Linked DNA regions of Homo sapiens: region 2 is linked to region 1. The links are contacts of gene promoters, found by promoter capture Hi-C in human tissues and cell types (Jung and others, 2019). All regions are on one chromosome and are shown on one strand. Each heading gives the region's core, a stretch centred on a gene start or on the middle of the fragment in contact. The rest is flanking DNA. Distances are from core to core; before and after follow the strand shown.

Evidence for each region. Contacts are between HindIII fragments. The study calls those that stand out against the background at their distance.
Region 2: a contact is called between a fragment that was not itself captured here and the fragment with the promoter of DNER in region 1, in 1 of the 25 tissues and cell types used here (mesenchymal stem cells).

Annotation. Positions count from the first base shown.
Region 1 is chr2:229,712,679-229,717,583 of GRCh38, forward strand. DNER (delta/notch like EGF repeat containing) reads right to left here and starts at 1,877. Exons shown (of 13, transcript NM_139072.4): 1 at 1,470-1,877. The coding sequence starts at 1,745. RefSeq lists silencers at 1,708-1,817, 1,888-1,947 and enhancers at 1,785-2,559, 2,560-3,333. The HindIII fragment of the contact is 6,115 bases long and covers 506-4,905 here.
Region 2 is chr2:228,459,093-228,464,545 of GRCh38, forward strand. No RefSeq gene overlaps it. Among named protein-coding and RNA genes, the nearest start is that of LINC01807, 150 kb to the right of the region's middle. The HindIII fragment of the contact is 9,173 bases long and covers 1-5,453 here.

The sequences.
Region 1 (4,905 bases), core at 627-3,126:
AGCAAGATTTTGTTCTAATGGTTAGAATGGCTCCAACAGGCATTTCCCCCAAGAAGCTATCATGTCCCAAATCTACTCCTGAGGCTCACATCACACAAATTCTTCCTCCTCCTCATCACCTCCCTTCAAGTAACTAAAGCTTATTGTAACCAGTAAACAAAGAGGAAGAGCACAGTGTTGAAAAGATAGATTCAGTTTGCTAATTTGCTATTAAATGAAATAAAAAGATTCTAGATAAATGCAAAAAAATCTGGCTGTCAAGGTCAAGTTTCTCAATCCCATTTACCTCTAAAAAATGTAAAACCTGTCATAATGAAAGGGCAGCCTTTTTCCCCATTGAAAGAACCTATTTGAGCATTCTCAAAGTAACTCTCCAATCATTGTTATCAAATTTATATGAAACAAACTCCTCCACCCTAAATGTAAGGAAGATAGTATCTGATCCCAAATATCGTCCATATTCATGTGGTTTAATGTAATCATTTCAGATAACTTCATTATTTGCCCTACCCTGCAATACAGGTTTGGGGATTTTCTACCCGTACACACAGTCCTACCAAATTGCCTACTGGAAATGTTGATGTTAATAGGTTTCACAGAGCTTTAACGGACTTGTAAAAGCCCCAGATATTATTTTCTGCCAAATTCTCCTGAAAACCCCAAATTCACGGGCGGCTGCTGGCTACATCCCATCGTCCCATCCCTCGCACCGCCCCCACGCTTTCTGGCGGCTTCCCGGTGCCCTGCTCACGCCCCGGCTGCCAGCCCCAAGCGTGCGCCCCGTGGAGCGTCCGGCAGGAAGGGCGGCCCTGCCAGCGCCACGTACAATGCCCCCTCGAATGCCTCCGACTGTTCCAACACTGCTCCTAAGCTTAGAGAGGGCTGGTCGCAGGCCGAGGGGAGGCAGCTGCCCTCCTCGTCCTCTGGCTGCTTTGTCACAGCCCTCAAGGGCGTAGGAAGAGAAGGAGAAAGTGCCCCACCACCTGGCACGGGGCCCACCATCACCTGCCTCCCACACCGCACACCCTTTACACACACAGGGTCCAGCCGGACGTGGAGCGTGGACCACCTGGACATTGAACACCTCGCCGGGGACGCTCGGAGCCGGCTCCTCCGCGCTGCCAAGGCGGGCACCGCTCAAGTGGTTCTTGGCTCGGCCCGGCCTGGAGGGGCGCGCCACTCAGTGGCCAACCGGAGCGTCTAGAGCCCCGCGCGAGAAGTGCCGAGCCCCGGAGCGGCACACCCCGAGAGCCCGGCTGGCCCCGCCCGGGAACCAGGGCGGGTAAGGGAATCAGGGTCGGCCCGGGGGTCCGCGTCCACGCGGGCCAAGAGACTGGATCCATCTTCTTCCCAAAGTGGGAAAGCCTGTGTCAGGCGTGCCCATTGTCGGGCAGCAGCAGCAGGGCCGGCGGGAAGAGGCTGCTGGTCCCGGACCAGCGCCCCGCACCGCGCCCGCCGCTTCCACTCACCTGGCAGTTGGCGCCGGAGATCCCGGCGGGGCAGGTGCAGCTGTAGCCAGGCTCGCCGGCGGGGGCCGGGTGCTGCGGGTCCGGCTCAGGGCGCGAGGTGCACACACCCCCATTCCGGCAGGGCTGCGCGGCGCACGGCCCGGGCGCAGACAGGGGCGCGGCGGGCACCGGGTTGGCCAGGGAGCTGCCTCGGGGCCCCGCTCCGAGCAGCAGCAGCAGCAGGGCCAGCGCGGGCAGCAGCTGCGCACCGGGCGCCTGGGCGCGGCGGGGCTGCATGGCCGGCCGGGAGGGCGCGGGAGCCGGAGCCAGGACGCAGTGACGGCGGCGGCGGTGGCAGTGGCGACGAGAGCTGCGAGAGCGACGGTGGCGGCTAGGGCTGCTCCGCCGGGCCGGGCGCCTCCTGCAGCTGCGGGATCCGCGGTTCCCCGGGCAACGGCGGGCGGGGCCTGCGGGGCGGGGCGGGGCGGGGCGAGCGGGGGGCGGGGCGCCTGGCGGCCCCGGCTCTGGAGCATCGGGGAGTGGGGCCTCTTTCCCCGCAGGGAGTTGGGATGGGGGTTGCAGGAAGACGATGCGGGACCCCATCCCCCAGGAGTGGGTCGAAGTCACGGGTGTGTCCAGAAGCAGCCCTGGTACAGGGAGCCAGGCGACGCTGGGGCAGGAAAGGGGCTGGAGAGGTCCACGAGTGAGGGAAGCGGGGCTTTGAGGGGCTTCCAGAGCCGGGAGCACCGAGTGCGCCCCAAGGCCCGGGCAGGGCAGGGCGCGGGAGGCGGCAGGGCGCCTCAAGGGAGGGGCGGCGCGCTCGCAGCAGCCACCTTTGGCCTCTTGGCGCAGAATCTGCGAGACCGCCGCGGGGCCCGGCCTTGCCTCATCCCCCGGGACTGCTCCCCTTCCCACAGCGCTTCTCCCGGCACCCCAAGCCCTCCCGCCCGGCCACGGAACCCTGCGCCCGACGCTTGCTCAGCAGCCGGGTTCGCCTGGAAGTGACCTCGCCTCCGCCAGGCGGACCCGGGGCCCTTGTCCTTGGTGCTGACCCAGCTGTCTCATTCTCGCCGGCCCTTTCCAGAGCGCGGGGCCTTGCCGCACCACTAAGGAACGTCTGGCCGCGCCGTGTGAGGCCGGGAAGAGGCCTTGGTGTAAGGCTGTCCACCCCTGTCGTTGAACCTAGGGGGAAACTGAGGCCCAGAAAGTCTGGATTCGAATCCAGTGGGTCAATTGACTCCCAGCCCAGAACGCCCGAAAGAACAGTTCAAAAGCCCAGGTTGGCAGAGGCGCTGCTAGCGGCAGGAATCGCAACAGGGGACTCTGCATAAAAGGAGCATTCGCTGTGACCTACTTCGGAGGGGATGGGGGGGGCGGGCTCTTCTACACGTCCTGGCTGGGCTGGCTGGTGCTGCGACCGCCAAGGAGGCTGCACTCCGCTGAATAAAGCGCATCCAGCCTTGTCTCCTCCACCTGACCTTTCACAATCTCTATTACCTGTGGGTTCCCAGGTACCTGTTACCTTCTTTTTAAGGTGGCCAAATGAAAAAAGAAAATGTGATTCCCCTGGATTGACAGTCTGGGCCAATTTTTTTTTTAGTAAACACAAAAATAGCTTGTTTTGTTTTTTAAAAAAATTAAAGTAAGGACTCCATGTGAACTTCTGCTGTAGGTGTCACAGACGCCAGGGATTGCTAAAAGTCCTCCAGTGGAAACAGAAGGCAAACTGCACGGCTTCTCCCTGTCCTGTTCAAACGCAGAAGCAAATGTCACACTTTTCTGCTTCAGGAGATACCTAAAATTCATGTGGCCATTGCAGGAAATCACTGAACCCCAGACAGATCTGCAAGCGGAGAATTCAGACCTCCAAGTGGATAGAGTTATTACATTTTTCCTCACACCTGCTGTCTTTCAATCTAAGACCTCTTCCTCTTGAAAATTCTTAATTTTGTGCCACGCCAGCACCCTCTGCTGGTACTAGTGTCGTCATTCAGGTGGTTTCTGTGCCCCTGGAGTTGCGTTCTTTCCTGAAACTAACTTCTCTTACCTTAAATCCTGGACTAGTGGATAGTGCTCTTCATTGCCTTCCATCAAGACACACACACAAATGAAGCAAGATGAAGTGTAAAAAGGTTGTGAGTTAATTAAAATCACATTTCAGTTTATTGTACTTTTGCCTGAGCAACCCCTTTGTTTGTGTATTTCATATTATTTTGAAATATAGGATAATTAAAAGTGGTTTTATTTTCTGGATGCTGGTTACTGCATGTTTCAGATAATTTTCCTTGCTAAAAGTATTCTCTTAGTCTTTAATCTTTAAAATGCATATTATGGCAGAGACAATACAAGATCCTTTCATTTTTTCCAGGCTAAAAAGGAAAACTATAATCTTCCAGCACCTTAGCTTATAGGCAGAGCAACATGATTAATGCTGGGGAAAAAGCATATTGATTTGCATGTCCTGGTCCCAAAACATCCATGTACTAAGTGCCATGAAAGTGTTAACTATTATTACTGTTACCACGCTCAGAGAAATGGGTCTTTTCTGTAGATTCCGAAAGCTGATCTGGTACTTTACTGACAGCTTTTCAACCATCTGCAAGATCCCCCAAATACTCAACTAAAAAGTCCAACCAATGTATTACCCTGTCACATTAGCAAAAGTGATTAAAATAATATTGCCTCTATGTTTAAATGAAAGCTAAAAATCCAGGCTTTTATTTTATATTATTCCCAACTTACAGAATATCAAATCTTCATCCTGACCCACCTCATTTCCTTTTTTGATAGAGTCCTTATATTGACAAGTCAAAGGCCAAATATACCAATAATGTATCTTGATTTTAGCAAAAAAAAAAAAAGTGATAACATTTCTCATGATCACCTTATGGAGAAAATTCAGCTAAGTGGACTCAAAACTGTTTAACAACATACCAATCGGGGGGTCACTATCAAGCTACAAGAAGTTTTTAGGGAAATAACCATGGAGTTGAAATTTTTGGCAGCTGATAAAATTCATACCAGAATCAACATGTAAATTTATCTTAATCAGTAAAAATGCTGAGCTAAAATAAATGAAATGGAATATGAGGTGAATGATAGTACATTCGATCTTACTGCTACTTCTTCGTAAGACTTTCTCTTCCTGCCCTCCTTAAAGTTAGATGTGGTCATATTATTGGCCATGGCCATAAAATGTGCAGGGAATAGTATGCCCCACTTCCAGATGGAAACTTTTAAAATCCTGCCCATGTCCCACTGTGTTCTCCTCTCCTTAGCGTGACAACTGGCAAGATTCCAAGAGGTGCAATGGGGGCTCCTCCAGCTTGTGTCTCTGAGAGAGGACAATGTGAAGCAATGGGAACCTGCAATGGGCATATGACATAAGAAATAAACCACTATAGTTTTAAACCACTGAGTCTCAACGATGTAAGATAACTCGAGGCCACACACTAGT
Region 2 (5,453 bases), core at 1,444-3,943, 1.3 Mb before region 1:
TTTCTATAGAGGTTGGGGTAATTTTCATAGACAATCTCCTGAGATGTTTTCCAAGTTGCTTGTTTTCACTCCTTCTCTTTCAGGGACACCAATGAGTCATAGATTTGGTGTCTTTACATAATCCCATATTTCTCAGAGGTTTTGCTATTTTAAACATTTGTTAGTTTAAACATTCTACTTTATTTTGTCTGACTGAGTTATTTCAGAGAACCAGTCTTGAGCTATGTGATTCTTTCCTCAGCTTGATCCATTCTGGTATTAATTCTTGCAGTTATATTCTGAAATTTCTGAAGTGAGTTTTTCAACTCTATCAGATGAGTTTAGTTCATTCTAAAAATGATCTTTTCATCTTTCATCTCCTGTATTATATTATTGTATTCCTTAAAATACATTAATTTGGTTTCAACTTTCTCCTGAATCTTGATGATCTTCATTCCTATTCATATTCTGAATTCTATTTCTGCTATTTCAGACTGGTTAAGGATCATGTCTGGGCAACTAGTGCAGTTGTTTAGTGGTAAGAAGACACTCTGGCTTTTTGAGTTGCCAGAGTTCTTGCTTTGTTATTCCTCATCTTTGTGATCTCATGCTCCTTCAGTCTTTGATGTTGCTATCCTCTGAACGAGATTTTTTGGCTTTAATCTTCAATGCCCTTGGAAGTTTCATTGTGGTGTAGGTGGGTTTAGTCAACTGGCTTCATTTGTGGAGGATTTTAGGAGGCCAAGGCACAGGTTGGCACCCCTAAGTTGCATGCTGTACCTCTGGGGGACTGGTATTGGATGTCGAGCTTTGTTCTCTGGTCCCTCAAGGTTAGGAAACTGTGCATTGGAGGGGCTGATGTGTTCCAGGACTGCTGGCCACAACACTGTAACGAGTAGGGCCAGCCAAAGCATTGCATCAGGCAGTGGCACTAGGATCTGTGCTTGTTTGTTTGTGCCAGTAGCAGCAGCATGGTGGGGTGCTTGCTCATAGGCTGGGGTGGGGCACTGGTGGGCACAGGGTTGCTGGCCTCTATGCAGGCATTCACAGCAGTGGCAGCACAGAGGGTGAGAAGGGCTGCTGACCTCTATATGCATGCATTCACATTGGCAATGGTGGTATGGCTAGGAGCGGGGTGTACTCACACTAGCAACAGAAGCATGTTGGCATCCATGCACACACACATGCTGGCAGGTAAGGGGAGGCGAGGTCCACCTACATGCTCATGCTTCAGCAAAGCAATGGGGTAGGTGGGCATGGGCAAGTGTGTGCCAGCAAAGTGTCATGGGGGAGGTTGCCATAGGATTAGGGTGTGGATGGGCTTGTGTGTGTCAGTGGGAACCACTCTGCTAGAGCTCTCAAATGGTCAGGTGCAGTCTGCTAGTATAGGAGCTATGATGCAGGTCCCCAGGAGGCACCCTACTTGGGCACCTGAGGCTGTACCACAAACAGGCACAGTCAGGCTGGGGATCCAGGAGAAGCCAGCTTACAGGGGAGTGCTCAGGTCAAACTGGCCCCATCTCACATTCAAGATTTTCCTTCTCTGTTCAGGTATGACAGTTTCCCTAAGACTAGAGTCTTCTAAGGGAGCACGGGGAGCCTTGGAGGGTGAACATCCCTGACTGTGCTCCACTGCAAATATTCCAACACCAAACTCTGTGGGCTCTACACAGGCTGAAGTACTGCCGCTACCACCTCTCTAAGCAGCTTTCCCTGCCAGCTCAAGTGTCCCTGAGAATCATGAGTTCCCCTGCTGCCAGGATTCTAGATGTCTGAGGCAAGAGCAGGTCACTCCTTGCCTGCTCAACTCACCCCTTTCCCCAGAATTGTTGGGGGTCAGGAACGAGTCTCGGTGCGTGGTCACCTCATGCAGGGTTCCCAGCTTCCTCCCCTTTCAGCCCAGTGTCTGTATCTTCCATCTGTCCACTCTCAATGCCTTCACTCTGAATATCTCCTGGGAGATGCACCAGTCTTCCTGAAGTCCTTGTCCCTTGGTGGCAGATGTTTTTCCTGGCTCTGTCTAGTAGGCCATCTTGCCTTGGCTCTCCCTTCACCACTTTTGAAATGTTTTTTTTTTTTAAATCATTTGTAACTTTGGTCTTCAATCTCTTCTCCACCAGTAATTATTTAATAATCTGATATAGAAAATACTCTTTATAAGTATTACTTTTTATAGCGAAAATAACATAAAAATAATACACAGTTTGTGACCATTTGATAAAACATTAATAGTAGTACAGATAGAATCACAAAAGCTTGACAACCAATAAGCTCAATGACTATTTTGTGCTTTCAGTTCCCACTTGCACCTCATGCCCTGTAGACAGTCAGCTAAGGTTTCCTACTGTCTCATGCTGATTGAGTAACGTACAGTATGATGTTGTCACCATTGGACAACTCAAAACAGTCTTGCTGGAATAGTTTTTTTTTTTGTTTTTTTTTTTTTTTGAGACAGAGTCTGGCTCTGTCACCCGGGCTGGAGTGCAGTGGCATGATCTCAGCTCACTGCTACCTCTGCCTCCAGGGTTAAAGTGATTCTCCTGCCTCAGCCTCCTGAGTGGCTGGGATTACAGGCACATGCCACCACACCTGGCTAATTTTTGTATTTTTAGTAGAGACGGGGTTTCATCATGTTGATCAGGCTGGTCTTGAACTCATGTCCTCGTGATTCACCCACCTCGGCCTCCCAAAGTGCTGGGATTACAGGCGTAAGCCACCGCACCCGGCTGGAATAGTTTTTAATTAGTGGTTACATCTCTGTTTTTCCTACTTCATCACATGAGATTTGAATTACTGATATTTCAAAAGGTTGCATTATTTTCCTCAGGCAGATGTAATTGAATTATCCAAATAAATCTTCAATATCAAAATTTGTTGTTAATTATCTGGTTCTAGATTTTATTTTTGTTTTTGTTATTATTCTTATTATATATTTTTGCAAAGGGACTTTACAAACACGTGCTGATTCCTTATATTGTGGCCAGAACATCTCAACATGTAGAAACAGCCAAAACAATGACAGAAGTTAACGTTATTATTACTATGATGATGATGATTATTACTTATACTCATATATCTCCTTTCTTCTCACACTCATTTCAAGTTCCTTTGACTCCCCTCATACTCATTATTCATGCTGATGTAATCTACAGTTGACTGGGGGTAGGGAGACAACGTCTCCTTTCTCCCTTGCTTCTGCTTGTTGCCTAGGACCCCATTGTATACCTTGCAGAAAGCTGATGAGTGAAGGACACAGAGTAGATTCCCAAATATTAGAGCACCCTAAGAACAATAGTGTAAAACAGGTATCTCCATATTCTAATGAGACATTTTAGACCACAGTGTCCACCTGAGACATCCTATAAGACTATTAGATCTCGAGAACAGGTGCTTGTTTGACTGTGGATAACTGCCATCTCTTGTTCTCAGTTCAGAGCCTCATATAAAAAGAGAAGAGGCAAGGAATCACTAAACTTGCTGTCATTAATGTAAACCAAATACTCATCCAAATAACATATATGGTAAGGGTATAAAAACCTAAATTGTAATCTTACATAGTAAAGAGTTGAGTCAATATTTAATTCTAAAATAATAATAACTCTAAAGGCAGATTATTTAAAAACAGGGAGTTACATTCCATAGCAAACAGCTGGAATTTAAGTTTGAAGTTATTGACTGTTGCAGAGTATATCTCTGGGGCTATGAAGAGTAAGGCAGATAATGATTTTTTCATTAAAAGCCTTATTCAACTACTTGAATTTTTAAGCTATGTTCATGTTTAATTTGCTAAAAATAAAAATTAAGAATGAAGTCAAGTGGCCAGGTGTGGTGGCTCATAGCTGTAATTCCAGCACTTTGGGAGGCTGAGGTGGGTGGGTCACCTGAGGGTCAGCCTCGCCAACATGGTGAGACCCCATCTCTACTGAAAAAAAAAATTAGCCGAGCATGGTGGAGCATGCCTGTAGTCCCAGCTACTTCGGAGACTGAGGCATGAGTAAGCACCTCAGCAGGTAGTGTTTTTGTTTTTTGTTTTTGTCTGGTGGAGTAACTGGAACCTTTATTTCTGAAGGGTCTGGGCCATTTGTAGTCCACCTGGATTGGGCTGTTGTAGTTTCCCTTTGACCTTAATCACAGGACATGGTAATACTAAGAGATGTCCTAAGGGATCTCCTATATTCCACGCATACTCTTCCTTACCTCCACTGTGGATTAGTAGACCTACTTCGTCTTGATAGTCCATGCCAATCACCCCAGCCAACACTGTAACTCCCTTCTTAGCCTGTTCACTTGAAGGTAGGAGAAGCCCAAAGTGTCCAGGTGGCAATCTTAACTTCCAGTTTAATGGAATTGTTGTGTCTTCTCGTTGCAGCATTCCTCCCTCTGGGACTAAGACCTCTAGGCCAGCAGAACGTAATGTTGCAGGAACAGGAAGCAAAAATGTCGCTAGTGGATCATGAGGGGTGATGGTGAGTGGTGCCACTTCCACTTCCACCTCTTGATTCCTGGGCCCTCATGTTGCATTGGCATCACAAGGATTCTAAATTGGCAACATCCAGAGGTAGTAGCCTTGGTACACACATGAGCCTTTTGAAACTGTGCAGTGGTTAGTTTGGCTTCTCCATGTGAGCTTTTGAGCAGGAGTTGGTAAGTGAGAAAGCTGGATGAAAGATAAGTGGGAATTAAGTTGGGGGCTGGGGAGCAGCAAATAGAAGCTGCCTCTGGTTCTGTGGTTTTTTTTTTTAGGCCCAGTGAAAAAGATCTAGATGAAAATTTCAGGATGTTGAATTACTACTGTTAGGTAAGTTAGAGCAATCAAAATCATAAACATCTGGACTCCAATATTGGGACTGCCAAAGTTAGTCATGCATTCACAGTAGGTCCCTTCGATGTAATCCAAAATCCCTACATTCCACTGATGTCTGCCATCAAATGACTCTGATCCACAAGGTATTACCAGAGGCCCCCAAATTTTGGAAATTCCAATGCTAGCTTTTCTTCCCAACTGGTCAATACTGTTCCAGGCCCGTAACCAACGAAAGTATTACTAACTACCAATTAATAACCATACTCTTACTCATCTTTCTAGTTTCCATCAGCCCCTTTAAAAATCATTTCTTACAATAGCAATGGTGTTCATCATACACACACACACACAAACAAAATCTCCTGTTCAAAAAATCTCTGGTTGGCTTTACTATGTTGAACAATAAACAGTAGGCTTCTTACACTGCAATCCCAGGTCATACATGATAGAGGTCTGGTATACTCTCTCCCTTTCCTACCCACTGTCCCCAGTTCCCCTTTCCCACTTGAAGACTTTCTAATTGGATTACAGTTCTCCAGATAAAAGAGTGTGTGTGTGTGTGTGTGTGTGTGTGTGTGTGTGTGCAGCGAGATAGAGAGAAAGAAAGAGTGACTGATTTACTTTAAGGAATTGGCTTATGTGATTGTCAAGGCTGACAAGTCAAAAATCT